Linked DNA regions of Homo sapiens: regions 1, 2, 3, 4, 6 and 7 are each linked to region 5. The links are contacts of gene promoters, found by promoter capture Hi-C in blood cells and fetal thymus (Javierre and others, 2016). All regions are on one chromosome and are shown on one strand. The core of a region is centred on a gene start or on the middle of the fragment in contact, and the rest is flanking DNA. Distances in the headings are between cores, read along the strand shown. Region 1 has its middle 18 kb from the start of SPTLC2. Region 2 overlaps ALKBH1 (alkB homolog 1, histone H2A dioxygenase). Region 3 overlaps SNW1 (SNW domain containing 1). Region 4 overlaps CIPC (CLOCK interacting pacemaker). Region 5 holds the start of TMED8 (transmembrane p24 trafficking protein family member 8). Region 6 overlaps SLIRP (SRA stem-loop interacting RNA binding protein). Region 7 has its middle 64 kb from the start of LRRC74A.

Evidence for each region. The method cuts DNA at HindIII sites, captures the fragments that hold promoters and counts their contacts. A CHiCAGO score of 5 or more calls a contact.
Region 1: a contact is called between a fragment that was not itself captured here and the fragment with the promoter of TMED8 in region 5, in 1 of 17 cell types (naive B cells). The highest score is 5.5, in naive B cells.
Region 2: a fragment that was not itself captured here is called in contact with the fragment with the promoter of TMED8 in region 5 in 1 of 17 cell types (naive B cells); the score reaches 6.3 in naive B cells.
Region 3: a fragment that was not itself captured here is called in contact with the fragment with the promoter of TMED8 in region 5 in 1 of 17 cell types (naive B cells); the score reaches 5.3 in naive B cells.
Region 4: a fragment that was not itself captured here is called in contact with the fragment with the promoter of TMED8 in region 5 in 1 of 17 cell types (naive B cells); the score reaches 7.0 in naive B cells.
Region 6: a contact is called between a fragment that was not itself captured here and the fragment with the promoter of TMED8 in region 5, in 1 of 17 cell types (non-activated CD4 T cells). The highest score is 5.7, in non-activated CD4 T cells.
Region 7: a contact is called between a fragment that was not itself captured here and the fragment with the promoter of TMED8 in region 5, in 1 of 17 cell types (neutrophils). The highest score is 5.1, in neutrophils.

Annotation. Positions count from the first base shown.
Region 1 is chr14:77,632,333-77,636,384 of GRCh38, reverse strand. No RefSeq gene overlaps it. Among named protein-coding and RNA genes, the nearest start is that of SPTLC2, 18 kb to the right of the region's middle. The HindIII fragment of the contact is 7,970 bases long and covers 1-4,052 here.
Region 2 is chr14:77,691,186-77,695,256 of GRCh38, reverse strand. ALKBH1 (alkB homolog 1, histone H2A dioxygenase) reads left to right here. Exons shown (of 6, transcript NM_006020.3): 3 at 357-519. Among named protein-coding and RNA genes, the nearest start is that of ALKBH1, 15 kb to the left of the region's middle. The HindIII fragment of the contact is 5,830 bases long and covers 1-4,071 here.
Region 3 is chr14:77,726,221-77,729,920 of GRCh38, reverse strand. The region is part of intron 10 of SNW1 (SNW domain containing 1); the gene reads left to right. Among named protein-coding and RNA genes, the nearest start is that of SLIRP, 20 kb to the right of the region's middle. The HindIII fragment of the contact is 4,579 bases long and covers 25-3,700 here.
Region 4 is chr14:77,108,564-77,112,224 of GRCh38, reverse strand. CIPC (CLOCK interacting pacemaker) reads right to left here. Exons shown (of 4, transcript NM_033426.3): 3 at 2,244-2,413. Among named protein-coding and RNA genes, the nearest start is that of CIPC, 12 kb to the right of the region's middle. The HindIII fragment of the contact is 6,167 bases long and covers 1-3,661 here.
Region 5 is chr14:77,374,714-77,378,383 of GRCh38, reverse strand. It overlaps TMED8 (transmembrane p24 trafficking protein family member 8), which reads left to right and starts at 1,290. Exons shown (of 6, transcript NM_213601.3): 1 at 1,290-1,448. The coding sequence starts at 1,331. SAMD15 (sterile alpha motif domain containing 15) reads right to left here and starts at 1,005. Exons shown (of 3, transcript NM_001010860.4): 1 at 1-1,005. The coding sequence starts at 965. RefSeq lists an enhancer at 1,023-1,232 and a silencer at 1,283-1,712. The HindIII fragment of the contact is 9,682 bases long and covers 1-3,670 here.
Region 6 is chr14:77,708,526-77,712,295 of GRCh38, reverse strand. It overlaps SLIRP (SRA stem-loop interacting RNA binding protein), which reads right to left. Exons shown (of 4, transcript NM_031210.6): 2 at 1,400-1,458. Among named protein-coding and RNA genes, the nearest start is that of SLIRP, 2.3 kb to the right of the region's middle. The HindIII fragment of the contact is 3,055 bases long and covers 979-3,770 here.
Region 7 is chr14:76,888,443-76,892,222 of GRCh38, reverse strand. It overlaps the pseudogene RN7SKP17. Among named protein-coding and RNA genes, the nearest start is that of LRRC74A, 64 kb to the right of the region's middle. The HindIII fragment of the contact is 7,667 bases long and covers 1-3,780 here.

The DNA.
Region 1 (4,052 bases), core at 31-2,530, 260 kb before region 5:
GGTAGAATTTAACTGGTATATGACCTTTCTCTAAGAACACTTCTAGGAACAAATCAGACATTGTCTTCAATAGGAGAAAGCCAAGGGAAACTCCAGAGGTGGCAAGTGAAATTACAAATTTCCCTTTTGCATTCAAGAGTGTGGGGAAAAGAAAGAGCGATCAGACTGTTACTGTGCCTATGTAGAAAGAAGTAGACATAAGAGACTCCATTTTGTTCTGTACTAAGAAAAACTCTGCTGCCTTGAGATGCTGTTAATCTGTAACCCAACCCCCAACCCTGTGCTCACAGAAACATGTGCTGTGTGGACCCAAGGTTTAATGGATTTAGGGCTGTGCAGGATGTGCTTTGTTAAACAAACGCTTGAAGAGAGCATGCTTGTTAAAAGTCATCACCACTCCCTAATCTCAAGTACCCAGGGACACAAAACACTGCGGAAGGCCGCAGGGACCTCTGCCTAGGAAAGCCAGGTATTGTCCAAGGTTTCTCCCCATGTGATAGTCTGAAATATGGCCTCATGGGAAGGAAAAGACCTGACCGTCCCCTAGCCCGACACCTGTAAAGGGTCTGTGCTGAGGAGGATTCGTAAAAGAGGAAGGCCTCTTTGCAGTTGAGGTAAGAGGAAGGCATCCGTCTCCTGCTCGTCCCTGGGCAATGGAATGTCTTGGTGTAAAGCCCGATTATATATTCCATCTACCAAGATAGGAGAAAACTGCCTTAGGGCTAGAGGTGAGACATGCTGGCAGCAATACTGCTTTTTAATGCATTGAGATGTTTATGTATGTGCGCATCAAAGCACAGCACATTTTTCTTTACCTTGTTTATGATACAGAGACATTTGTTCACATGTTTTCCTGCTGACCCTCTCCCCACTATTACCCTATTGTCCTGCCACATCTCCCTCTCCGAGATAGTAGAGATAATGATCAATAAATACTGAGGGAACTCAGAGACCAGTGCCAGCGTGGGTCCTCCGTATGCTGAGTGCCGTTCCCCTGGGCCCACTTTTCTTTCTCTATACTTTGTCTCTGTGTCTCTTTCTTTTCTCAGTTTCTCGTTCCACCTGACGAGAAATGCCCACAGGTGTGGAGGGGCAGGCCACCCCTTAAAAGAGCTGCCTACTCTATGCTAACCTCCTTCTCTGAGTGACTCTCCAAATTCTATTGGGTAATGGCGACAAATGGCACCCACCCCCTAAAAGAAAAGATTCACATTTACTTGGAGCAAGATGGGTGCCTGCTTAATATTTACCCAACGTCTGAATTCATCTTTCTCTCTAATAGCCCTGTGTTTCATGGAAAAGCTACCTAAATCTTTAACCAATAACTTTAACCTGGTCAGTCCTACCTTAGGGGTTTAAAAATAGGCCACACTGGCTGGGCGTGGTGGCTCATGCCTGTAATCCCAGCACTGTGGGAGGCTGAAGCGGGCAGATCACGAGGTCAGGAGATCGGGACCATCCTGACTAACACGGTGAAACCCCATCTCTACTAAAAATACAAAAAAATTAGCCGGACATGGTGGTGGGCGCCTGTAGTCCCAGCTACTCAGGAGGCTGAGGCAGGAGAATGGCGTGAACCCGGGAGGCGGAGCTTGCAGTGAGCCAAGATGGCGCCACTGCACTCCAGCCTGGGCGACAAAGCGAGACTCCATCTCAAAAAAAAAAAAAATAGCCCACACTTACTCAAACAAGCCTGAACAAGAAATCTAACTGAGCAATCACTTTAGTGGGGGATAACTTCTACCATATATAGGTAACCTCTTTATCTGCTCCCATTTTACAGGACTTGCACAGCAACAAACCATAACTTCCTAACAGAAAGAAAATAACTTTTGTCTAATTCAAAAGTTATAAAGGTAAAGAGGTATTTTTGGTAAAGAGTGTTACAAGAAAAGAGACTTTGTATGAAAAAGGATCTTGTATGGTAAATTCTTGTCCTAAAATAAAATAACTGGTTGTTTAAAAAGACAGACATTTAGGACAAGTCAGAAAGTCCAACCATGTCATAGATGGTCTGTATAAGTTGTGAAAAGATTCGTGAAAGGAATTTACAACTTGCCTTCTTTAAAGCCATTAAATTTGGCCAGGTGAAGTGGCTCATGTCTGTAATCCCAGCCCTTTGGAGGCTGAGGTGGATGGATCACGAGGTCAGGAGTTTGAGACCAGCCTGGCCAACATAGTGAAACCCCGTCTCTACTAAAAATACAAAAAATTAAGTGAGTGTGGTCGTGGGCACCTGTAATCCCAGCTACTTGGGAGGCTGAGGCAGGAGAATCACTTGAGCCTGGGAGGCAGAGGTTGCAGTGAGCCGAGATCGTGCCACTGCACTCCAGCCTGGGTGACAGTGTGAGACTCCATCTCAAAAAAAAAAAAAGCCATTAAATTCTAGGTAAGGCCTGGGCACATACAGAGTTAGTCATGCCCCCTAACTATGCTGGAAAAAGTCAGACCTTATCTGCACTTCCGTCTAGTGTCCTAGACTCCAAAGCTAGTACATAATTAGAATTGTTTTCTTACCAGGTTTTTCATAAAAAGTAAATGTTGCTAGGAGTTAACAGTGTAGGCCAATATGGTGAAACCCTGTCTCTACTAAAAATACAAAAATTAGCTGGGCCTGGTGGCATGCACCTGTAGCCCCAGCTACTCAGGAGACTGAGGCAGGAGAATCGCTTGAACCTGGGAGGTAGAGGTTGCAATCAGCTGAGATCATGCCATGACACTCCAGCTTGGGTGATGGAGTGAGACTCTGTCTCAAAAATAAAAGAAAAAAAAAAGAGTTAACTGTGTAACATTCACTTGAGACTACTGGAGAAAACAGTTTTCCATGCAAGGTGTATAAGAAAAGTAGAATGTGCTTTTGGTAAAAGATTACAAGAAGGCATGAAAGCCAGGTGCAGTGGCTCATGCATGTAATCCTAGACTTTTGAGAGGCCAAGGCAGGTGGATTACTTGAGGTCAGGAGTTCAAGACCAAGCTGGGCAACGTGGTGAAACCTCATCTCTACTAAAAATACAAAGAATTAGCCAGGCATGGTGGCACACACCCTTAATTCCAGCTACTCGGGGGGCTGAGGAAGGAGAATCACTTGAACTTGGGAAGCGGAGGTTGTAGTGAGCTGAGATCATGCCACTGCACTCCAGCCTGGGCAACAGAGCAAGACCCTGCCTCAAAAAAGCAAAACAAAACAAAACAAAATAAGTAATACAAAAAAGAGAAGGCATGAGAATGTGAATTTTTTTTGCTTCGTTTAGAGGGTTAAAGGATAGTTTTAAGTTGAAATAAAGCCAAAGGTTTGAGCAAATTGTGGAAGGATTGCAAAAGATTAATCTGTATGTGAACATATTGGCTAAAATTAAAGGGGTATATTATTCAGTTTATCCATAAATTGAACATTGGAATAAAAGCATAACATAGTTTTCTTAGAGCATTGTTCTGCTCTTTAACAGAAAACTATAAAGGGTCATAAAAGTTTTATGAGAATCTTACCTATGGTTAAATGAATTAAGATTGGATAGATTTGTCTATGAGGTTTTATTAAGAATTGGGTTTAACATCAATAGTACTCTAATGCAAAGGTAAAATTTGGCTTTCTTTGAACTGTATTTGTATAAATAGGTTGTTGGTATGTGTTCCAAAACTGTGTGAAACTCCTGTAATTCTGATATAACTTAGTATATGCTATCAGTAATAATTGTAATTGTTATGTTAAATTATTGCATACCACAGAGGTAACACATTTCCTTGTCAATTGTGTCTTTGACTGTGGTGGCCTTAAGACTTTTTGTCATCCACAGACAATCATTGTCTTGTTTTAACTCTTTTTAAAAGGTGGTTTTACAGGCTGGGCATGGTGGCTTATGCCTGTAATCCCAGCACTTTGGGAGACTGAGGCAGGAGGACCACTTGAGTGCAGGAGCTTGAGACCAGCCTGGGCAACATGGTGAAACCCCATCTCTACGAAATCATAAACAAATTAGCTAGATGTGCTGGTGGGTGCCTGTAGTCCCAGCTACTCAGGAGGCTGAGGTGGATGGATGGCTTGATCCTGGGAA
Region 2 (4,071 bases), core at 1,340-3,839, 320 kb before region 5:
ATCATGCCTGTAATAAATGAAATAGGGAGGTAAAGAAGTCTCGGATGACTCTAAGTGTCAAGACCTGATAAAAATTAGAGGTGTACTTTTACCACTTCCAATTCTAAAGTTTGCTTTGGGATAACAGTTGTTGTGGAATATTTATTTCTCTTGAGAATACCCAGAAAGCCAGACACATTTGCATAGGGGTAGATGTCTAATGTTCATCAAAACCTACCTGTTCATTAACTTGAAGCATGACCAAAAAAATATGGGGAGTAAATAACAAAATAGTGAGTATAAAGATGTCAAAATTATTTGAATAACTGATGGAGAATTTCCCCCTCTTCTTTTTTTCCCACCCATCTTTTGTATAGGGTTTATTTTTATCCCAAACCCCTTCCTCCCAGGTTACCAGTGGCACTGGGTGAAACAGTGCCTTAAGTTATATTCCCAGAAACCTAATGTATGTAACCTGGACAAACACATGTCTAAAGAAGAGACCCAAGATCTGTGGGAACAGAGCAAAGAGTTCCTGAGGTAAGTCTTGTCAATCAGAATGAAGTGTTAATACTCAGCTCAGATCATCACAGGTCTTTGAAGGAACTGTTCTATAACAATGCAGTAAAAGTGACTGGCTGGGTTTTTTTTTCCCTTCATTGTTTCCAAGCAAAAACAGCACAATTGTATTCTTTCCCCAGGAACATTTGGACAGATGCTTTGACAGTTATAGTAAATTGAGATCCATTTTAAAGACTTGCTTATCATAGCTTAGATAATTGAGTTCATCCTCATTAATCATCACATGATCCATTTCCATTAGCTTCAGCCATTTTTTTCTACTTAAAGTGAGTTCCTTTGAAGGCTTTTGGTATCCTAGGAAAGGTAACATCGAAAGCTCTTTGCTTCTACCCTCCTAGATGGATTCAGTGGTACTAGCCGTTTTATGATAGGTCAGTTGTTCCTGATGAGAATAACTAATATTTTCACCTTCATGCTTCAACATTCATTCATTCATTCCACAAATACTTAATGAGGGTCAGTAGTGTGTCAGGCATGATGCTAGGCGTTGGACACAGAAAGATAAAGGCACCCTCCCTGCACTCAGTAGTGCATAGTCTCTGGCAAGAATGCATTACCTATGAGAATAATTACTGTAGAGCTCAGAAAGTGTTATGATGCGGTTTAGAAAAATACTGTGGGAGCATAGAGGAGGAAATAATTATTCCAGGCAGGGTAGAAGTGTGAACGAAGAAAAAATGATTTTTTGTTTGTTTGTTTTTTGTTTTTTGAGACAGAGTCTCACTCTGTCACCCAGGCTGGAGTGCAGTGGCGCGATCTCAGCTCACTGCAACCTCTGCCTCCTGGATTAAAACGATTCTCCTGCCTCAGTCTCCTGAGTAGCTGGGATTACAGGCATCCACCACCACGCCCCACCAATTTTTGTATTTTTAGTAGAGATGGGGTTTCGCCATGTTGGCCAGGCTGGTCTCAATTCCTGACCTCAAGTGATCCCCCTGCCTCAGATTCCCAAAGTGCTGAGACTACAGGCGTGAGCCACCAAGCCCGGCCTGAAAAAATGATTTTTTTATTGGGTTATCCTCCTTTCACTGTCCATTTGAACTAATCTTCAAAAATGAGTAGGGGTTTACCAGTCAGAAAAGTAAAAAGTCTCTACTGAGTAGAGAAAGCAGCCTGAGCAAAGATACAATATTTAAGACAGAATAAATCGTCCTGCGAGACAAGAGCATAGGATGTGTACTTTCTTACGTTTATTCAGTTGTTATCTATTGAGTTTCTGCTATGTGTCAGACACTGTGCTTTAGTGTTAGAGATTCAAAGGCAGATAAAAAACAGTTCCTGTCTTCAAGAAATTTGTACTTTAGTTATGTTCAAAAACCTACAAACAGATAATTAGATACAATTTGGGTCTGGGCTTGGTGGCTCATGCCTGTAATCTCAACACTTTGGGAGGCCAAGGTGAGAAGAACACTTGAGGCCTGGAGTTACCAGCCTGGGCAACATAGCAAGACCCCATCTCTATGAAAAAAAATTTTTTTTTTTTTTTTTTGAGACGGAGTTTCGCTCTTGTTGCCCAGGCTGGAGTGCAATGGCATGATCTTGGCCCACTGCAACCTCCACCTCCCGGGTTCAAGCAATTCTCCTGCCTCAGCCTCCAGAGTAGCTGGGATTACAGGCAAGCGCCACCACACCCGGCTAATTTTGTATTTTTAGTAGAGGTAGGGGTTTCTCCATGTTGTTCAGGCTGGTCTTGAACTCCCGACCTCAGGTGATCTGCCCACCTCGGCCTCCCAAAGTGCTGGGATTACAGGTGTAAGGCACTTCCCGGCCCCAAAAAAATTTTTTTTTTTAATTAGCTGGGCATAGTGGTGTGTGCCTGTAGTCCTAGCTACTCGGCAGGCTGAGGAGAGACTGTCTCTAAAAATAAATAAATTAAATAAATAAATAAATAAATAAATACAATTTGGTAGGTGCAGGGACAGACATTATAAGATATAATGGGAATGGTCACTTAAGTAGCTAGGCTGGAGGTAGATTATAGAAAATGCTTCCTGGAAGCCATGAGTAGGTGGAATTGGTAAAACATGAAGGAGGAGAGGTGGATTTGGGCCAGATGGTAAAGGTTTTAGTGATGTAGAGCAGGGGGGTCCCCAATCATGGGGCAGCAGACCTAGACAGCCAAGCATTACCACCTGAGCTTCGCCCCCTGTCAGATCAGCAGCAGCATTAGATTCTCATAGGAGCGCGAACCCTGTTGTGAACTGTACATGCAAGGGATCTAGGTTGCGCACTCCTTATTGAGAATCTAATGCCTGTTCATCTGAGATGGAACAGTTTTCATCCCCAAACCACCCCCCATCCCCACTCCATCCATGGACAAATTCTCTTCCATGAAACTGGTCCCCAGTGCCAAAAAGGTTGGGAACCACTAATGTAGAGCACTAGTTCTGGAGTCAGACTGACTGTGTTCAGATCCCAGCTCCACCACTTAATAGCTGTGTAACCTTGAGCAAGTTCCTTCACCTTTCTGTGTCTCATAACAGTTCTTTCCTTATTGAATAGTATGAGGATTAAACAAGATAATACGTGAGAAGTCCTTTAAAGTGCCTGTTAAAACCATTTTACCAACTTTGTGTCCCGTTTGGTGTTACGTGGCCTTAATTTTGTAGTTTTCAGAAACTGTCATGCCGATTCTAACAGAGTAAAGAGAAGATTTTCTTAAGGGGAAAGGAAAAGTAAAATTCAGTGGTTTTTTTTAAACCTTGGTCTATAGGTTATGGTATCAACAGGAGCAGTGAGGAAAATCCTGTCCATGAGCTTTTAGTAGTGTCTTCTTCGCAACTGAGAGCAGGGGAAAGGAAGATCGTGGTTAAGTAAAATTAGTCCAAGAGAACCTACTGCTATTAAACCAGCCTGTGTTTTCAAGTAATTTTTTTTCCTTCTGATATATGACTCTGCAGAAATCCCAGCTGTCTTTTAAGATAGCTCAGATGAATCTCTGTAATAAATCATCCTGTAAACAATGGTGAGATACCTTTTTTTTGGTCTAATAAATTAGCAGAAATAAAAAATTTGATGGTCGTACCTTATGTTGTCAAGGGTTGGAAGAAATTGATATGCTCAAGACATTGTACTGGCAGCACTGAAAATCGATTAAGGCCAAGTTTTCATTGTATCACTATGTGATACGTGCTTCAGTTTCCTCATGTAAGAAATGAAGGTATTGGACTGGATAAGCCATTCAAGGTAATTGAATCATGGGCAGTCAGGGTCATGTGGACAGTACCTGGCAGCTCTCCCAACTTTGCCAGAGTCTCTCAGAACAGGAGAGAGTCTGTTGAGTTCAAAACAGTTCCCCTGGAGATTTTGATTAGGTATCATAACATCCTCTGACATTGAGAACCACTGAAGTAAAGGACCTCTAAGATCCTTTTGGTTTTAATTTTCTAGAATTCTATAGTCAGGGAAGAAAAAACTTTAAATAGGAAATGAAGAAGAAATACTTGAACTTAAGCAAAAACAAAAATTATTTAAAAAAAAATACTTGAACTTAAGGACTGTTCAAAAAAT
Region 3 (3,700 bases), core at 1,065-3,564, 350 kb before region 5:
GCCCTTTAACCTAAAGATAAAGCTTTTACTACAAGTGAAAAGGGAAGCAATTGCAGGGTTTTGAGCAGAGTAATGACCTGACATACTGTTTTCCAGCTTTATTGAGGTACAATTGGCAAATAAAAATTGTATAAAACATACAACATGATGTTTTAATATACACTGTGAAATATTCACTACTGCCAAGCTAATTAACTTACCAGTCATCTCTTATAGTTACTTTTTAAATTTTTTGGTGAGAACACTTAAGATCTACTCTCTTGGCAAATTTCAAATATACAATGCAGTACTGTTAACTATAGTTAACATACAGTATATTAGATCTCCAGAACTTACTCATCCTGCATAAATGAGACTTTGTACCATATGACCATTTCCCCTAACATATATTTTTAAAAGACCTCCCTGGCTGCTGTGTTAAAAATAGAATACTGTGGAATGGGCATGGGCTAATGCCTTCCAAATAAACTGTAAGAGAGATAGTAACAAGAGGTAACAAAAACATGGTCCCATATTGGATGTATTTTGGTAGTAGAGTTGACAAAATTTGTTTGTGGATTAGGTGGAGATACGAAAAAAAGTAGGAGTTAAGGATGACTCCAGAACTTTTATCCTAAGCAGTTGGGAAGGATTAAATTGCCAATTGCTCAGGATAAAAGTAAATATTACTTTTATTTACTAATATTGGGAAGACTGCAGGAGGAACAGGTTTGGGAGGGAAAGATGAAGAATTTATTATAGTTAAGGATATGTTAAGTTTAAGATGGAGGTGCCAGGTAATTGGTTACAAGAGTCTAGAGTTCAACCATAGGGAAATAACCAGGGTTTTAAGTAGTGATCCACTTCCCTCAGTTATATATGAATGACTTAATAAGGTGAGATATAAATACCTGCCTGGTTGTATACCTAACCATAGAAGATAATTAGAAGTAAAACTTACTGCATTTGAGTTCTCTAAACTAATAAGAAAAAGACAACAGAATCGTTCTCAAGAAATTAAAAATTTTAATGAATCTCTTGCCAGATAGTAGTAAAAACTAACATTTATCAGGTGCTTCTTATGGTGGGCACCACTCTGAGTACTTTATTTGCATTATCTCATAATCCCTGGGATAACCCTATGTAGTGATACTATTATTGTGACTGTTTTACAGAGGAGGAAACTAAGGCTTATAGTATTAAGTAATCTGCGCAGGTCACATGGTTAATTGGCTATAGAAACAGGATTTGAATCCAGACAGGCTTGCTCCAAATCTTATGCTCTTAACTGTACTCCATTCCCTCAGACTGGCGAGGGTAGAAAAAAATGAAGATAGATATAAATGCAGTGGAAATCAAGATCCAGCCAGCCCCTAAGGGAAATAAGCTGACAGTTCTTTATTCAATAGAATCTTTGAAAATATAAGGGAAACATTATGCATAATTCCTTTTTTCTGACTTTTTTATTATTATTATTATTTGGTTTTTTTGAAACGGAGTTTCGCTCTTGTTGCCCAGGCTGAAGTGTAATGATGCAATCTCAGCTGACTGCAACCTCCGCCTCCTGGGTTCAAGCAATTCTCCTGCCTAAGCCTTCCAAGTAGCTGGGATTAAAGGTGCCCATCACCATGCCCAGCTAATTTTTTGTATTATTAGTAGAGATGGGGTTTTACCATATTGGCCAGGCTGGTCTCAAACTCCTGACCTCAGGTGATCCACCTGCCTCAGCCTCTCAAAGTGCTGGGATTACAGGCATGAGCCACCACACCCAGCCTTTCCTGACATTTTATTATGAACATTTTCAAACATACAGAAAAGCTGAAAGAATTATATGATGAACACCCGTATCTCCTACCACCTAGATTCTACACTAATTTTTTTTTTTTTTTTAACAATTAACATTGCTCCCATGAAAGAAAAGCTCAGGATTTGACAGCTTCACTGCCGAATTTTTCCAAACATTTAAAGAACTAAATACCAGTTCTACTCAGACTATTCCAAAAAATTGAAGAGAAGGGAATGCTTCCAAATTCATTCTACAAGGTCATTAGTATACTGACACCAAAACTAGACAAATATACAACAAAAAAGAAAACCACAGGCTAACATCCCTGATAATCTTAGATGCAAAAATCCTTAACAAAATTCTAACAAACAGATTTCAACACATTAAAAAATATCATTCATCATAATCAACTGAACTATCCTTCATCCCAAGGATGCAAAGATGGTTCAGTATATGCAAATCAGTAAATGTGATACATCACATTAATAGAACCAAGAATAAGAACCATAGCATCATTTCAGTAGAAACTGAAAAAGCATTTGAAAAAATTCAACATCCCTTCATGATAAAAACTCTCAACAAAGTGGGCTTAGAAGGAACATAACTAAAAATACTTAAGGCCATATATGACAAACCCACAGCTGACATACTGAATGGAGAAACATTGGAAGTCTTTACTCAGAGATCTGGAAGAAGGCAAGGATGCCCACTTTCACCACTGTAACTCAACATGGGACTGGAAGTCCTTGCCAGAGAAATTTAGGCAATAGAAAGAAATAAAGGGCATCCAGATTGGAAAGGAAGGCCAGGCACAGTGGCTCACACCTGTAATCCCAGCACTTTGGGAGGCTGAGATGGGCAATCACTTGAGGTCAGGAGTTCAAGACCAGCCTGGCCAACATGATGAAACCCCGTCTGTACTAAAAATACAAAAATTAGCTGGGTATGATGGCGTTCACCTGTAATCCCAGCTACTCAGGACGCTGAGTCACAAGAATTGCTTGAGCCCAGGAGGCAGAGGTTACAGCGAGCTGAGATCATGCCACTGCACTCCAGCCTGGGCAACAAAGCAAGACTTCATCTCAAAAACAAAAAAAAACAAGACATCAAATTATACTTTGTCAGAGACAGTATGATCCTATATTTAGAAAAACCTAATGATGCCACCAAAAAACTTAAAACTGATAAACGAATTCAGTAACATTACAAGATACAAAACCAACATACAAAAATCTGTAGCATTTCTATATACAAATAGGATACCCAAGCTGAAAAACAAGAAGGCAGTCCCATTTATAATAGCTACCAAAAACTACCTAGGAATAAAGGTTTTTTTTTTTTGAGACGGAGTCTCACTCTTGTCACCCAGGCTGGAGTGCAGTGGCATGATCTCAGCACACTGCAACCTCCGCTTCCCAGGCTCAAGCAATCCTTGTGTCTCCGCCTCCTGAGTAGCTAGGACAACAGGCGCACACCACCACGCCTGGCTAATTTTTTTTATTTTTAGGAGAGATGGGGTTTCACCACGTTGGCCAGGCTGGTCTCAGACCTCAGGTGATCTGCCTGCCTCAGCCTCCCAAAGTGCTGGTATTACAGGCATGAGTCACTGCACATAGCCTCCTAGGAATAAACTTAACCAAAGAAGTGAAAGATCGCCACAAAGAAAATGATAAAAGACTGATGAAAGTAATTGAAGAGGCTGGGCATGGTGGCTCACACCTGTAATCCCAACACTTTGGGAGGCCAAGGCAGAAGGATTACTTGAGGTCAGGTGTTCAAGACCACCCTGGGCAACACAGTAAGACCCTATCTCTTTTTAAAAGAAAAAAAATTAAATTTTAAAAACAGAAATTGTAGAAGACACTCTAAAAATGGAAAGATAGCCCATGCTCATGAATTGGAAAAATTATTATTGTTAAAATGTTCATACTACCC
Region 4 (3,661 bases), core at 699-3,198, 270 kb after region 5:
GATAAAGCCAGGCAGAGGGCAAGCCTGACAGAGTTTCACATCATCAGTGGGGTCAGGTGGGGTCATTTGATTTATCTGAAGAACATTACGAACTGTCTTCCCATACATGTACATGCGCGCACCATTTTGCACACATTTCAGTTTCTTGGATGCAAGGTTAGGAACTTTAGGCCAGTTCATTTCCCATGCAAAGGCTGGAACGATCTAGAGTCCTCTTGATGTTCAAATATACTCCGGAATATACTAAGGCAAGCAATGCTAGGGCCAGAAACCATATTTCCTTGTCATAGGAGATCCAAAATCAAGAGGTCTTTTGAAGTAGAAATCAGCCTGTTCCAGCTCAGTCAGAAGCAAAACTTCATGCCCTCTCTAGGGATGACCTACAAGGCAAATGGATCTGGAAAATATCTAATGCATTGTTTTCCCATGATTTTACTGGACTGTACTTCCTAATGCTACTGTTATGCCCACTCTCCTAACAGATACTTAGCTGACTTGTTCCAATTATTAGATTTTACAAATTGTATTATTCATGTGGAAATCACCTGAGGGAATACAGAACAAAATTTTAGACTTGGACAGGATCTCAGAATCATTTCACATAAACCCTTCATATTAAAGATGAAGAAACTGATATCCATTGTGGTTAATTATGTACAAGATCACACTGTCTAATGACAGAGGTGGAATCAGACTCTCAAAAGAAAAATATCTAAAACCAAGCAGCCATAATCAAGACATTACACAACATGCAGAGTTTTAAATGTGTATCATTATTTTAATTTTAGAATACGCTAGATTCTAGTATGTTTTTAAAAAACGAAACAAAACTCCTAGACTACTCCCTTAGGTCAGCTTGTCCCCAAGTCTCTTAGCTCCTGATCAGGCCCAGCAGCTTTTCTGGCGGGTCTTTGTCTTAAAGAATGTGGCTCTGCTGGAAAAGCCTACTCACTCCGTAACTGTGTGTGTGGGCTGTTCTCAGCCTTCTGGAGCTGCCAGCCTAGCCTACAACAAAGAAGGGATATAAACACAGACACAAGAAAGGGACAAGGAAGCCAGAGAGGAAGGCAGGGAGAAAAAGAACTGGGAGAAAGGAAGCCCAGGAGAAGCACTGGCAGCACTGGTGGGGCCGGAGCAATCTCATGTGGGCTCCGTTTCCTGTCTCTATTCTTTCTTTTCCTTTCAATAAGGAGAGCCATGCTTCCAGCTGAGATGTGATTTACCAAGCAAAAATCTTCAAATTCCTTTTCAGAACTCACCAGTCTGCCTTGTTGAAAATCAGTTTGTGTTCCTCATATACAACTAGGTAATAGCTAAGACATTAAGATTTCCTGTCAAGTTAAAGCCATGTTCTCACCTTTTACCCTAAGGGGGGAAAAGTCAACTACTCAAGCCAGATTTAAAATTTCACTATCTTCAAGTAGCCTCATCAATGGACCCATATGAAAACTGATATATTTTCAGAGGAAAGTACGGTAAGATTAAATTTCTTTGGCTGAAATCAATCTTTTCTATTCTCAGACTTCTCTATTCTAACTTAACCAAGTTCATATGATCAAGTTCTCAGTTTCAAACACTAGAGCTTAACTTAGATTTTCATCTAAATCTTTTCTTTCATATCTAAACAATAATCATATAATAAACATAGTTATGTAATAAAGCCCCAAACAGGATGTGTTTCCACTCCACAACACTGTGTGGATTCTGCTGGTATTCCCATACTTGAACCAGGAGCAGCTTCGTCACTAATGACAGGCTCTGGCTGACTACTAAGAAAATGCTCAGTATATGACATAAGAAACAGGGAAATTGCCTCTACTTCTGAGATAAATGCATTCTACATTCCTAAATTCCCAGGGCAATCCATATTAAAAAGAGCATCTTTTGTTTCTACCCTAAACTCTGCCATATGTTAGAATGCACCATTGAAGTGATGCCATTTCTGCTTGGTTCCTTTATATACATTTCAGGGTCTCTTTGGACAAACTATGAATACAGAAATAAAACAACCTAACTGTCTGAAAAATGAGAACGCATGTCATGATTCTTATATTCCTTTTTAAAACAGTGTCACACTTGAAAGATAACATCCGCTCCCCAGGACAGAAAGTACACATTGGTGTGGTTCTAATGGTCTGTTTCTAAAATCTCTCCTTGGCAGAGAATATAAATCTCTTCCTTTATACACGGAAGCTAAGAGATTTTTATTTGCAAAGACTTTAGGTGATATTAGTCCTCCTCACCTGTTTGACAAGCACATTCTTCATGACGACCATGGGAGACAGGGTAGGGAAGGCATTCTTTGCAGTTTTGGAGTTCTGCCTCGGCCTGTCTTCTCTGCTCCAGCCTAAGGCGCTCAGCATGTCCTCGGACTCCATCTGCTCTGCAGAGCTCAGACATTCCGAGCTCCCATCTGGTGGGCAGAAGAATGGTCAACTCACTCAGGCTCTAGACTAGGGGCTCTTAACCAGGCTCCTAAGGAGCTACAGACCTCTTGAAATTGAATGCAACACTTGTGATGTGTTTTTGTGAATTTTATTGAGAAGGAGGCTTTTAGCTTTCATTGGCTTTTCAATGGGATCTATAATTAATCCCTCCTCCACCAAAGATTAAGAATTATTGCCCTAGGACGAGTTTGACTTCCTTTCTAACTCTCTTACAGACAAAAACCTGCCTCAATTAGGGCTCACATGAAAGTAATCATCATCAGTCTACAGGAGAAATGAGTTCAAGGTTTCAAAGTTAGTTTATTACTTTCGAGAATCTATGTTGAGAAAGGAGACGAGTATGGCCCAAGGTAGGATTAAGACCTTCAGAGGCTCTGGGTACCACAAGATGTAATTACAATTAAAAAAACAAAACCAATCTGTAAACCTCAAAACAATTGCATTTTCTCCAGCTTAAGGAAGACTGTATGACTGGAAGGATATACATCAATGGAAATATGATTTAGAATCTCCAGTGATACTTTTAAAAAACCATAAATGTTGGGATCCTTCCCTTGATCTACTGAAGTGATTTACCTGGTTCCATGGTAGGTGTATTTCACAAAACACAAGTAATCCAAATGTACACCTCTAGTTAAGAACCATTAGACTGAAAACAAATGAGCCCAGAAGCAATGTACATATTGAGTGCCCAGATCTTGGTTTCTAAATGCCATTCTGCACATAAAGGAAATGAGGGGTCCTTGGAGAAACAGCTGATTCCAAGACTTTGACAGGGAAGATACGAGATGAGCCTGGACAGCTGCTTGTCCCAGAAAGCAAAGAAGTGCTCAAACACTAACAGAGACATGTCAACGAGACACAAGAGCTATCTTGAGGGGACTCCTGCTGGTCAAATTTGAGACAATTTGAGTATCAGAAATGATGATTTTAACAGGTTGACAAACTGAATTACAAAAGAATTCCATGACTACATTAGTGATACTCAAAAGAAGAGGGAGGAGGGAAAGCACTTTTTACAGAAGAATGTCAGCTAATGACGTACAAAGAATGGTAAAATTAGAAGATCACCCCCTTTTTTTTTTTGAGACAGAGTTTCGCTCTTGTTGCCCAGGCTGTAGTGCAATGGCATGATCTTAGCTCACCACAACCTCTGCCTCCCGGGTTCAAGCGGTTCTCCTGCCTCAGCCTCCCGAGCAGCTGGGATTACAGGA
Region 5 (3,670 bases), core at 41-2,540:
TCAGTAGACTTTCTTGGCTTGTGGTCTGGAAAGTCTGGTTTAGTCCGCTCAGGTAGTTCTGTCCCTTTCTCCTCAGTTGCCTTTCTTTGCATCTCCTCTGGAACCTCTGGTTGAGTCTCTTCTGGAGGCTCTAGACCTGCCTCCTCACTAGACTTTCTTGGTTCCTTCTCCAGAAATTCCAGTCTAGCCTGCTCGGGTGGCTCTGTCCTTTTCTTCTCAGTTGACTCTCTTTGTGTCTCCTCTGGAGTCTCTGGTTTGGTCATCTTTGGTGGCTGAAGATCTGTCTCTTCAAGTGATTCTCCTAGTTTCTCACTTGGAAAATCTTGTTTGGTCTGCTCTGGAGGCTCTAGACCTGTCTCTTCATGTTGCACTCTAAGTGATTCCTCTGGAACCCCCGGTTCAGTCTCCTCCTCTAGTAATTCTAAATTTCTCTCTCTGACTGTGGCCCCCGAAACCTCAGACATGGTTTCCGTTGGTGGCACTGGATCTGGATCTGTTTCCATAGCTGACTCTAGGAACACATCCTCTGTAACATTTGGTTTAGCCTCCTCTGGTGGCTCTAGGTCTGACTCTTTATGCGTTTCATCCATAGGGGCCTCCAAATCTTTGAAAAACTCTCCCATCTCTCTGGATGTTTCCGACTTTACCTCTTGGTGTATCCCTGGTTCAGTTTCGCTTGGTACGTCTCTCTTGGACTCCTTGGCAATTCCTTCCTGGGACGTCCCGCCAGGTTTCAGCTGCACGTTCTTAGCACTGTCTGGCTCCCCCTCTTTGAAGTCCTCTTCCTCGGTCTCTGGCTGTGGCTCTTGGTAAATCTCTGCTGGTAGCTTCGAGTCTGCCTTTGCCATGGTGTCTGGTTCGGCATTTTCATACAATTTATGAAGTCCAGGCAGTTCAGGCCTCTCAGGCTCCAGCTCTCCATCTTCATCTGGGCCGGAATCATAATCCTCCGGGACTTCAGCCATTTGCAGCTTAGCAGACGCGCCGCGGCTTCCTAGCAACCCCAACTTCCGATAGCGTCTCTATGGATACCACGATTTCCGGCAGTGTCTTCCTGACTCTTCCCCAGGTTTTGTTTGTTCTTTCAAGCCCTGACTTTAAAAATCGTCTGTCACAAGCACGCAGTAACCCTCCCTGCGGCCTCATCGCCAGCCTCAGCGGGCCAGAGCTCCTGTGGCCGCCCCTGGGTCAGCTAGCTTTTCAAGCGGCCGCCGCGCCGCTTCTTCCGGCCTGCAGGCTGCGCTCGGCTGTGCTCGGCGCTCGCTCGGCCTTCGGCTGTTTCCGGAGCCACTCGCGGCTGGCAGCGGAGAGCTCCGTGCGCGGGCTGCAGATGTCTGACCTGCAGGCGGCTGAGGGGCCGGGCTCCTGGAGCCCCACAGCCCGCCCAGGGTCGGCTGGCGGCGTCGGGGACTGCCAGGGAGTGGAGGGGAGCCAGGCGGCCGCCTCAGGTACGCAAGGCCGGGGCGCTGGCGGGTGGGTGCCGCCCGGCCTCAGGGCCCCGCACCACGGCGCGAGCCTCCGCCGCGCTCTGTCCTGGGCTTCCCCGCGGAGCGGACCCACCTCGGCAGCCCCTTCGCGCGCGGGGCCCCTTCCCCGCCGCTGCCACCACCCGGGCCCTGGGCTCGAGGTTATTTTCTACTCACTCCTGTTTCGAAATGCCTTGATTCCTGCCCCGCTTCCTTTCTGAGATCTGCCCAAATGGTAGTGACAGGGTGGCTCTGCCCCTGGCGCCTCTTCAGCTTCAGTTTCAGCTTCAGCCGGGGTTCGGGTCCCACCTCCGTCTGCTAATCACATCTAGACTGCCGACCCGAACCCTACTGGCCTCGCCGCCCCCTGCTTCTGGCTCCCCACCCTATCCCCATCTCAGTCCCCTGCCCCAGCCTTACCACGCGCCTCTCGGCCCCCACCCGGGTTGGCAGCCTTGCCTTCCTCTGCCAGAAGCCCACTGCGCCCTAGCCTTCCTGCACATAGGCCCCCTGGCCTTGCTGCCATCCTCTCCATCGCTTAGAGTGGGAAAAATGAAAAGCAGAGTTGAAATAGGTAGTGTCTGGGGTCTTTTGCTTGAACACAGTAGCCAAAGCAAGAGCAGGAATTAAAAATTTGGCCTACCTCCCTCATTCTCAAGACCCTCATCCTCTTCTTGTCCAGGACGACGTCTCCATTTCTACTAACGCGAGTTCCTCCGTGTGTATTATTTCAGTGTCCAAAGACAAAAGAGTCCATCCATCACACTTTCTTCTTTCAGCCTCCTGAACACCACACACGATGCAACTGAAAGGATGCTCTTTTGAAATACGAAAGGGTAGAGGGGAGAGAACTTGTCTTATTTAAGTAGCAAATATAAATTAATTTTCTAGGTCTGAAATTAAAATAGACACCATAAAGTATAATGGTTGAGGCACTACTGTGGAGCCAGGGTGCCTGGATTGGAGTCTGAAACGTCAGTTTCCTCATCTGTAAAATGTGATTACTAAAAATATCTGCCTCATAGGATTATTGTGAGGATTACTTGAGCTGCTTTGTCTAAGGCATTTGGGGTATAGTCCATGGTACACACTATACTCGTCTCAACCATTGTGACAGTAAGGTCTCTTTTTGTTCAGTTGAACTTCCTGTGCCGCCAGAGGTGTTCTTGGATGTATGGCTTCCAACATGGTGCCTTTTTCTGTCTTCTACTCTGATCCCAAGTATCTTCCCTCTCATAATGCTGCCTTATTCAAACACACACACAACTCACCCAGCTCTTTCCCATGATTTTATATTCTTTTACTTTAAAACACCTGACAAATTTTGCCTTTTTTTCTTACGAACTCTGCTTTGTATTAAATTAAAAATCGTTGGCATATATTTAACATAGCAGTAGAAATTCTAAGCATAATGTCTAAAAGACTAAGCAAGTAAACACAGAAAGGTAAGTCTTATAACACTTGTCCCTTGCATGCGCCAGTATTTACAAATTAAGCATGTTTTTACTTCCCCTTTAGGTTCTCATGTGTTTATGGCAAACGTACCCACGCGTTTTAGATAGATGAGTGTGTTTTTTTTTCCCCCTGACATCTAATTCATTCCTGCATTCACTTCCTCCCAGGACATTGGTAGAGATGCTTACTTTCCTTCCTCTTACCCTCAGAATGCAGGGTGATAATTTTTTTTTTTAATGTCATGTAGGGGTTTATTATAGTAGCCCAGAGCAAGCTCTTCCTCTTGAGGTAGGATTTGTTGCTAATAAAATAATAGTAATGATAACCTACAGATATTGAATGCTTATTCTGTGCCAGAGGTGGAAAAAAATTTATATTTTCTGATTTAGTCATGTCAACAATCATTTTCTTCCCATTTTACAGAGGAACAAACTACAGCTGAGAAAGGTTAACTTACCTGTTCAAGTTAGCGCAAGTTTTTACTGTCTGGATGAAATTGTCATCTTGTTATGATGAAGTCTATAATTGTTTGTTTTTATTGGCCATGAATCAAGTATTGGTACTCGCAGACAGGTTATGGTCTCTGTCCTCAAGGTGTTTTCAGTTTGATGAGATGAGAGATCCATTTCAGGGAGAAACAATTAACAATTCAAAACATTATATAATTGGGCGTCTTTTATTACAATTCTTTATCTACTAAGAAACCTGCTTGGAGTTAGGAACGGAATCTCTCTTGCTTGTTTATTTAT
Region 6 (3,770 bases), core at 1,257-3,756, 330 kb before region 5:
ATCTCAAAAAAAAAAAAAAAGGAATTTTGCCAACCACATGAGGGAGCTTGCAAGTCAGTCTTTTTCCCCAGTTGACCCTTTGATGAGACACACCACAGCCCCAGCTGACACCTGGAATATATAGCTATGTGAGATCCTAAGGAGAGGACCCAGCTAAACTGTGCTCAGCTGTGAGAGATGTGTTGTTTTTGAGCCATTACGCTTGTGGTATTTTGTTATACAACAATAAAAAAACTAACACAAATACCTATGATAAAGCTTTTTCACTTTTTAATCAAGTATCACTCAAAATGTAATCAATAAAGACTGTAGGCCGGGCACAGTGGCTCACGCCTGTAATCCCAGCACTTTGGGAGGCCAATGCAGGAGGATTGCTTGAAGCCAGGAGTTCAAGATCAGCCTGGGCAACATGGCAAGACCCCCATCTCCACAAAAATAAGCCAGCACAGTGGCTCACACCTGTAATCTCAACATTTTGGGAGGCCGAGGTGTGCGGATAGCTTGAGCCCAGGAGTTCGACGAGACCAGCATAAGCAACATGGCGAAACCCCATCTCTACAAAAAATACAAAAATTACCCAGGTGTGGTGGTGCATGCCTGTAGTCCCAGCTACTCAGGAGGCTGAGGTGGGAGGATCACCTAAGCCTGGGAGGCAGAGGTTGCAGTGAGCCATGACTGCATCACTGCACTCCACCTGGGGTGACAGAACAAGACCCTGTCTCTTAAAGAAAATGAAAATTAAAAAAATTTTCCAGTCTGGACAGTATGGCGAAACCCTGTCTCCACTAAAAAATACCAAAAAAGTTAGCTGGGCATGGTGGCACATGTCTATAGTCCCAGCTACTCAGGAGGCCAAGGCAGGAAGATCACTTAAGCCTGGGAGGCAGAGGCTGCAGTGAGATCAGGCCACTGCACCCCTGCAGGGGGACAGAGCGAGACCCTGTTGCAAGATAAGAATTTTTTAAAACACTTTAAGCTTTTTTTTCAACAATTTTTGTGAGTGTATAGTAGGTGTATATATTTATTTGGGTATATATTTATATATATTTATATATTATTAGGTGTATATATTTATATATTTATATATATAAATATGTATATTTATTATGGAGTACATGAGATGTTTTGATATAGGCATGCAATGTAAATTAAGCACATCATGGAGCATGGGGTATCTATCCCCTCAAGCATTTATCCTTTGACTTATGGGGTATCCATCCCCTCAGGCATTTATCCTTTGAGTTACAAATAATCCAATTACACTCTGAGTTATTTTAAAATGTACAATTATTATTGACCATAGTCACCCTGTTGTACTATCAAATAGGTCTTATTCATTCTATTTTTTTTGTACCCATTAGCCATCCCCACCTCCCACCTACTTTTCCTTAATACTTACAAAAGGTAAAATGCACCTTCTGACATGGCCGAACTGTGCAAAGTGTTCTTTCAGCTGACCTGTGTGGCAGAAGAAAACATTAAAAGTAGTTACTATATTTTGGATTCTCTATCTTAGACTGTAGAAAGACAGGGTCACCAGATTTCTTGTGGACAGGAACTACTTTGCATTTCCTTAAAGGCTTAAGATTTAGGAAGCAGCTATGGTACTGACTATAAAGCCATAATGTACCAGACTTGGTGGTGAGATGGACAGAGAAGTTGTTGAGTTGGCTGCAGTCTCCATCCTCAGCAAATATCGAGTGTTTTCATACCAGTTACTGTGCTATGTGGACTATGATCCCTGTGAGCAGATCACAATGAAGAAAAAGACAAATTACAATCCAGTGTGTTTCCCGGTATACTGAAGATTTCCAAATAAAATCCCAACTTACTGGTCTTTCACAATTTAGTAAAATGTGTTGAGTTGCCCTCACCTACCCTTCCTGCCTTATTTCCCACTGCTAGCCCCTAGTTACTCTCTAGTACAACTAATTGAATTATCTTTATCTGTCCTGCGGGTTACCCTCTTTGCATATGTTGTTCTCTCCCCTCCATATGTTGGTAATCCTATCTCCCCCTGGCTAACTTGTAACACTATAACTATCCTTCAAGACCCAAACCAAGTACATCCACTGAGTATTACTTTATTGGGCTCCTATCACAGTACAAGACAATGTACCAGCCCTGTGAGACTTCAAAGATTTAGAGTATATAATCTTAAAGACTAAAAACTACACGATCTGTTTCTCTTCTGAACTACAGTGCTTGTACTTCACTGATTTACTTTTTATAATATCTATTTAGTTCTCCTAGTTCACCAAAACCTCACTGGTTCAACAATTGCCTATATTTGTTCTAAGTCTCTTCATCCCCACCACTAATTGTAAGCTCCCTCAGCATATAAACCACTATGTTTACAGTGACCAATAAACAGCAGGGCCTCAATATTGGCTAAATGAATAAGTAAAAGTCCACTAATCCTTCCAACAATCCACAGAGACTAAATTTTGAAGGGCTCTAATGGTTAAGTCAAACCAACTGGCAAGATCAAGGTCTCACAGAATATGATACTGGAGAACAAAATAATGTTAAACATATGTTTTATACCAGATAATTAAAGTCCTAGAAGACACTGATTTCAAAACAAACCAGCTCTGGAAGGTAACCCTCTTCCTAAATTGCCTAAAATGGTGAAGGAAAAACAGCTGCAAGCACCAAGAACAATGCCTACCACAGAATAGATACTCAAATAAATATTTGCTGAATCAATGGAACAACAAAGAGAAACTGTTTCGAAGCTGTACATAATGCTGACTCTTTTTAAGGGTTTTAAACTAGCCCTTTATTGTCTGGAAACTTGCATCCGCAAGATGCTAATGAAACTCCTCAGCCTTTCCATAAAGTTTCACAGGGACTACGGGAGACTTTACTGGGCTTGGTCTTCACCAACCACATGTTTAAAACACGGGGCACAAACCAACCTATTTCCCATTCTACTACTCACATCTGAGCCACTAAAAACTTAGAAGAAACTAAATCTTGCTCCATTTTGTTTCCAGGGGTTGACCTGAAACATGAATATCTACAAAAAGAGTGACCACGAATGTTTACATGTTGGTAAGCAAATATAAAAACCTCATCTCAAAACTGCAGCTGACAAAAATTGAAGGTGGTGAAAGATTTCAGAACTAATTATTCCAACCTTTATCTGTAGACTAGGCCTCTCCCGTAAGTTTCAATTTTAGTTACCGTGAAAATAACTATCATTTGCTGAGTACTTACACTGTATCTAACACAAGTCTAAGAAGTTTGCATATAAACTCAATCCTCTCAACAATCCTATGAGTTGGGTATTATTGACTCCATTTTATCGATGAGTAAACTGAGGCCCAGTTGTGAGCCCTTTTCCCATACTAACTTCAGTTATTCAAGTGATAACAACGATTAAATGGCCAAGTTGGAATTCTAACCCCAACGGTCTAGCTTCGGAGTCCACTTCTCAGCCACAATGATATACAACCTTTGTCCAATTGCCTGACGGAAACCTCACAAGTTTCTCAAAGTCAACACATTCAAACTTTACTCATCTTCTCTTGGCCTGCTCCTAACTTCTAAACAAACAATTCACCAATGCTAAAAACCCAGAAATCATTTCTCCCTTTCCTTTATTCCGTACACTTCTCCCACTTAAGCCATCACGAAACGGCATCTAATTTGCTTTTAAAACATTAATGCATCTGACCACCATCCTTCTACCATCGCCCTAATTCAGGTCCTCACGTTTTAAGTAAATTAATGAAATTGCCTTTTAGCTCCTCTGCACGCCTACA
Region 7 (3,780 bases), core at 410-2,909, 490 kb after region 5:
AAAATTAGCTGGATGTGGTGGCTTGCACCCGTAATCCCAGCTACTCGGGAAGCTGAGGCAGGAGAAACGCTTGAACCTGGGAGGCGGAGGTTGCAGTGAGCTGAAATTGCACCATTGCACTCCAGCCTGGGCAAGAAGAGCAAAAGTCCGTTAAAAAAACAAAATTAGCTCGGCGTGGTGGTGCATTCCTGTAATCCCAGCTACTGGGGAGGCTGAGGCAGGAGAATTGCTTGAACCCAGGAGGCAGAGGTTACAGCGAGCTGAGATCACGCCACTGCACTCCAGCCTGGGCACAGAGCAAGACTCTGTCTCAAAAAAAAAAAAAAAAAATCCTAGTTTTGCCTGGCACTGTGATGCCTATAATCCTAGCACCTTAGGAGTCTGAGGTAGGAGGATTGCTTGAGGCCAAGAGTTTGAGACCAGAGTGGTCAACATTAGCAAGATCCCTGTCTCCATTAAAATAAAAATAAAAATAACTAAAAAATAAATAAATAAAATTAGAAAAAAAATCTTAGGTTTTCTCTTCAGGGCTTGGCAGAATGCCTGGGACATGGTGACATTCAGCAAATCTTTGTTGAGTGAGTGAACACAGATACTTGCCACATCCAGAATGTTTGGTGAAGCTATTGTCATTGACATATTGACTCAGAATGTGTTGCTTTGCCGTTATGATTGTCTACCAGCAGTTCCTGTGTTCTGTGTGGTTTAGGGGGGAGCTGTTTTCATCCTAATCTTATTCTGGAGGCTCTCACCACTGGGGTCCAGGAAGTTCCAGTCTGATTAGTGCTGGCTCCACCCCCAAGCTGCTGCAGAAACCTACCATAATCCAAGATTTTCGGGGGCCTGTTGGTCAAGCATTGCCCACCACCCTTCTGTCTGCAGGTGGAGGCAGTTCAGACTGACCTTGGATGTCTGGGGTATTGCCTCCAAGGGCGTGTGCTCCAAAGGCTGCTCCTGCCAATTGGCCCTGGCCTATCACAGTTCCCTGCACCCCATAAGCCATCTCTCTAGTAACAACTTTTCAAGATGCCCCTCCTCTCCATTCCAGTGCTCCTGTCTTGGTTCAGACCATTACATTTCTCTCCTGGTACACTCCTGTAATCTAACTGGTCTCTCTGCCTATGGGCTAGTTAACCACCTTGCAGGGTTTTTTTGTTTGTTTGTTTGTTTGAGACAGTTTTGCTCTTGTTGCCCAGGCTGGAGTGCAATGGCGTGATCTCGGCTCACTGCAAACTCCACTTCCCGCGTTCAAGTGATTCTCCTGCCTCAGCCTCCCAAGTAGCTGGGATTACAGGCATGTGCCACCATGCCCAGCTAATTTTTGTGTTTTTAGTAGAGACAGGGTTTCACCATGTTAGTCAGACTGGTCTCAAACTCCTCACCTCAGGAGATCCACCCACCTCGGCCTCCCAAAGTGCTGGGATTACAGGCGTGAGCCCCACACCTGGCCTGCAGTTTTAAAATATATCTGCAGAACTTCAACAGGTTTCCCTCCCAAAGATGGAGGTTCATTCCTCTTTCCTTGAGTGGAGGCTAGACTTACTGACTCACTTCTAACAGATTGAATATGGCAGAAGTGATTGTATGTGATTGGGTCATATAGCACTGGGACTTCCCCCATGTTCCCTCTTGGATCACTGGCTCCAATGTTCGTTGCCATGTTGCAAGCAGCACCATGGAGAGGCCCATGGGGTGAGGAACTGAGGCCTTCTGTGAATGGCAGATGAGTGGGCCATGTTTGGAGGTTCTAGCAGGGGAGCACAGCCACTCACATACCCTTGACCAAAGAACAGCCCTCTATCGGGGAAGGTCGTCCTCTTCAACCTAGCGCACAGCTTCGGGAAGGACATATGTGGAGCAGTGAGAGAGGAAGGGGACACCTGCCGCACCATCCAGATCAGCTGAATCAACCCTGGCAATCAATGGTGTGACAGATATCATAGCCGGATCGAAGTGGGCCATTTTAGAAGCACATCTGCTGGCCGAGTCAAGCCTTTAGACAGCTTGTCTGCAACCTCGTAGGAAGCCCTGAATGACAACCAAGCTGCTGCCAGATTCCTAACTTTCAGAAACCATGTGAAATAGTAAATATTCATTGTTTTAAGCTGCTAAGTTTTGAGATAATACACTATGTAGCAATAGATAACTAATATACCACTTTCCAAATTACCCTTCATATCACTGCCAAAGTAATCTTTCTTTTTCTTTTTCTTTTTCTTTTTTTTTTTTTTTTTTGAGACAAAGTCTCACTCTGTCACCCAAGCTGGAGTGCAGTGCCACAATCTCGGCTCACTGCATCTCCGCCTCCTGGGTTCAAGCGATTCTCCTGCCTCAGCCTCCCGAGTAGCTGGGGTTACAGGCACATGCCACCACCCCTGGCTAATTTTTTTGTATTTTTAGTAGAGACAGGGTTTCTCCATGTCGGTCAGGCTGGTCTCAAACTCCTGACCTTAGGTGATCCACCCACCTCGGCCTCCCAAAGTCCTGGGATTACAGGCATGAGCCACCGTGCCTGGCCAAAGTAATCTTTCTAAAATAAAAATCTGTTAGCAAGGTGCCTGTGGTCCCAGCTACTCGGGAGGCTGAGGTGGGAAGATCAATTGAGCCCAGGAATTCTGGGTTACAGTGAGCTAAAGAAAGAGAGAGAGAGAGAGAGAGAGAGAGAGAGAGAGAACGAAAGAAAAAGAGAAAATGAAAACCTGATCAAATAATTTTCCTTCTAGAATCCTTCTGTGGCTACCCATGACTTTCAAGATTAAGTCCTAACTCTTTTGCTTAGCACACAGGGCAAGAGAATGGCGTGAACCCGGGAGGCAGAGCTTGCAGTGAGCCAAGATTGCACCACTGCAGCCTGGGTGACAGAGAGAGACTCCGTCTCAAAAATAAAAAATAAAAAAATAATAATAATAATAAAGGAGAAGGATGGGTCTCTTTCCTTCGGCTCCCCTGGCGAGGAGATTCCTGGCTCTAGGGCTGACAGCCAACCAATACAGTGTTGTTAATGTATTGAAATACTTTCATTCTAGTTAGCAAACAGCCATCCCTGAGCCCCTTGAATACTCTTTCATCATCCTAGCCTGCTTTCCTTGGGACCCCAAGACTTCTTCTGAATCCAGCAAGTAAAAGAGCATCTCAGCGGACCTCCGGGATCCTAACGCAGTTGGAATGTCCATTCTGATTGCTGGGGCTGTGTTGCTGTGCAGGTTGTTAAAATTTGTGAATATCACCTCTGGCCAGACCCATTGCCTCAGTGTTGAGGAAAGACCATTTTGGGGGCAATTAGGGGCTCTGGGTTCGAGTCCTATCACCAACAGGCGGTGTAACATTGGATACATTGTCCTTTATGGGTCTGAGTTTCTTTACCTATAGAATGAGGGCGCTGGGCCAGGTGAGCTCTGAAGTTTTTGACAGAATCCTGTGATTCCATCCTCATCCTCCAAACAGGTGTGTACCTGTGTGTGTACCTATGTGCGTACATGAGTGTACATGTGTATATTCCCATGTTTCCTTGCTACTGAGCTTCGTTTCCAAGTGCAACAAAACCTGCTGTCCCCTATACCTTCAGGCTGGCCCAGGGCAAATGCCTGATAGTCTCTGAGCCATGGGGCCTGGAGCTTGTGCTCTCCTCCCTTCTGTGTCCCTTCCCCCTTCAATCCTGGACTGTTCACAGCTGCATAGACTCAGACCCTCTGTCTACCTAGCCAGAGCCCTGTTCGAGCCAGCTCTTCCCGCCGAGCTGTGCAGAGCTGTGCAGAACCGCTTCTGGCTCTGAACTGCTCC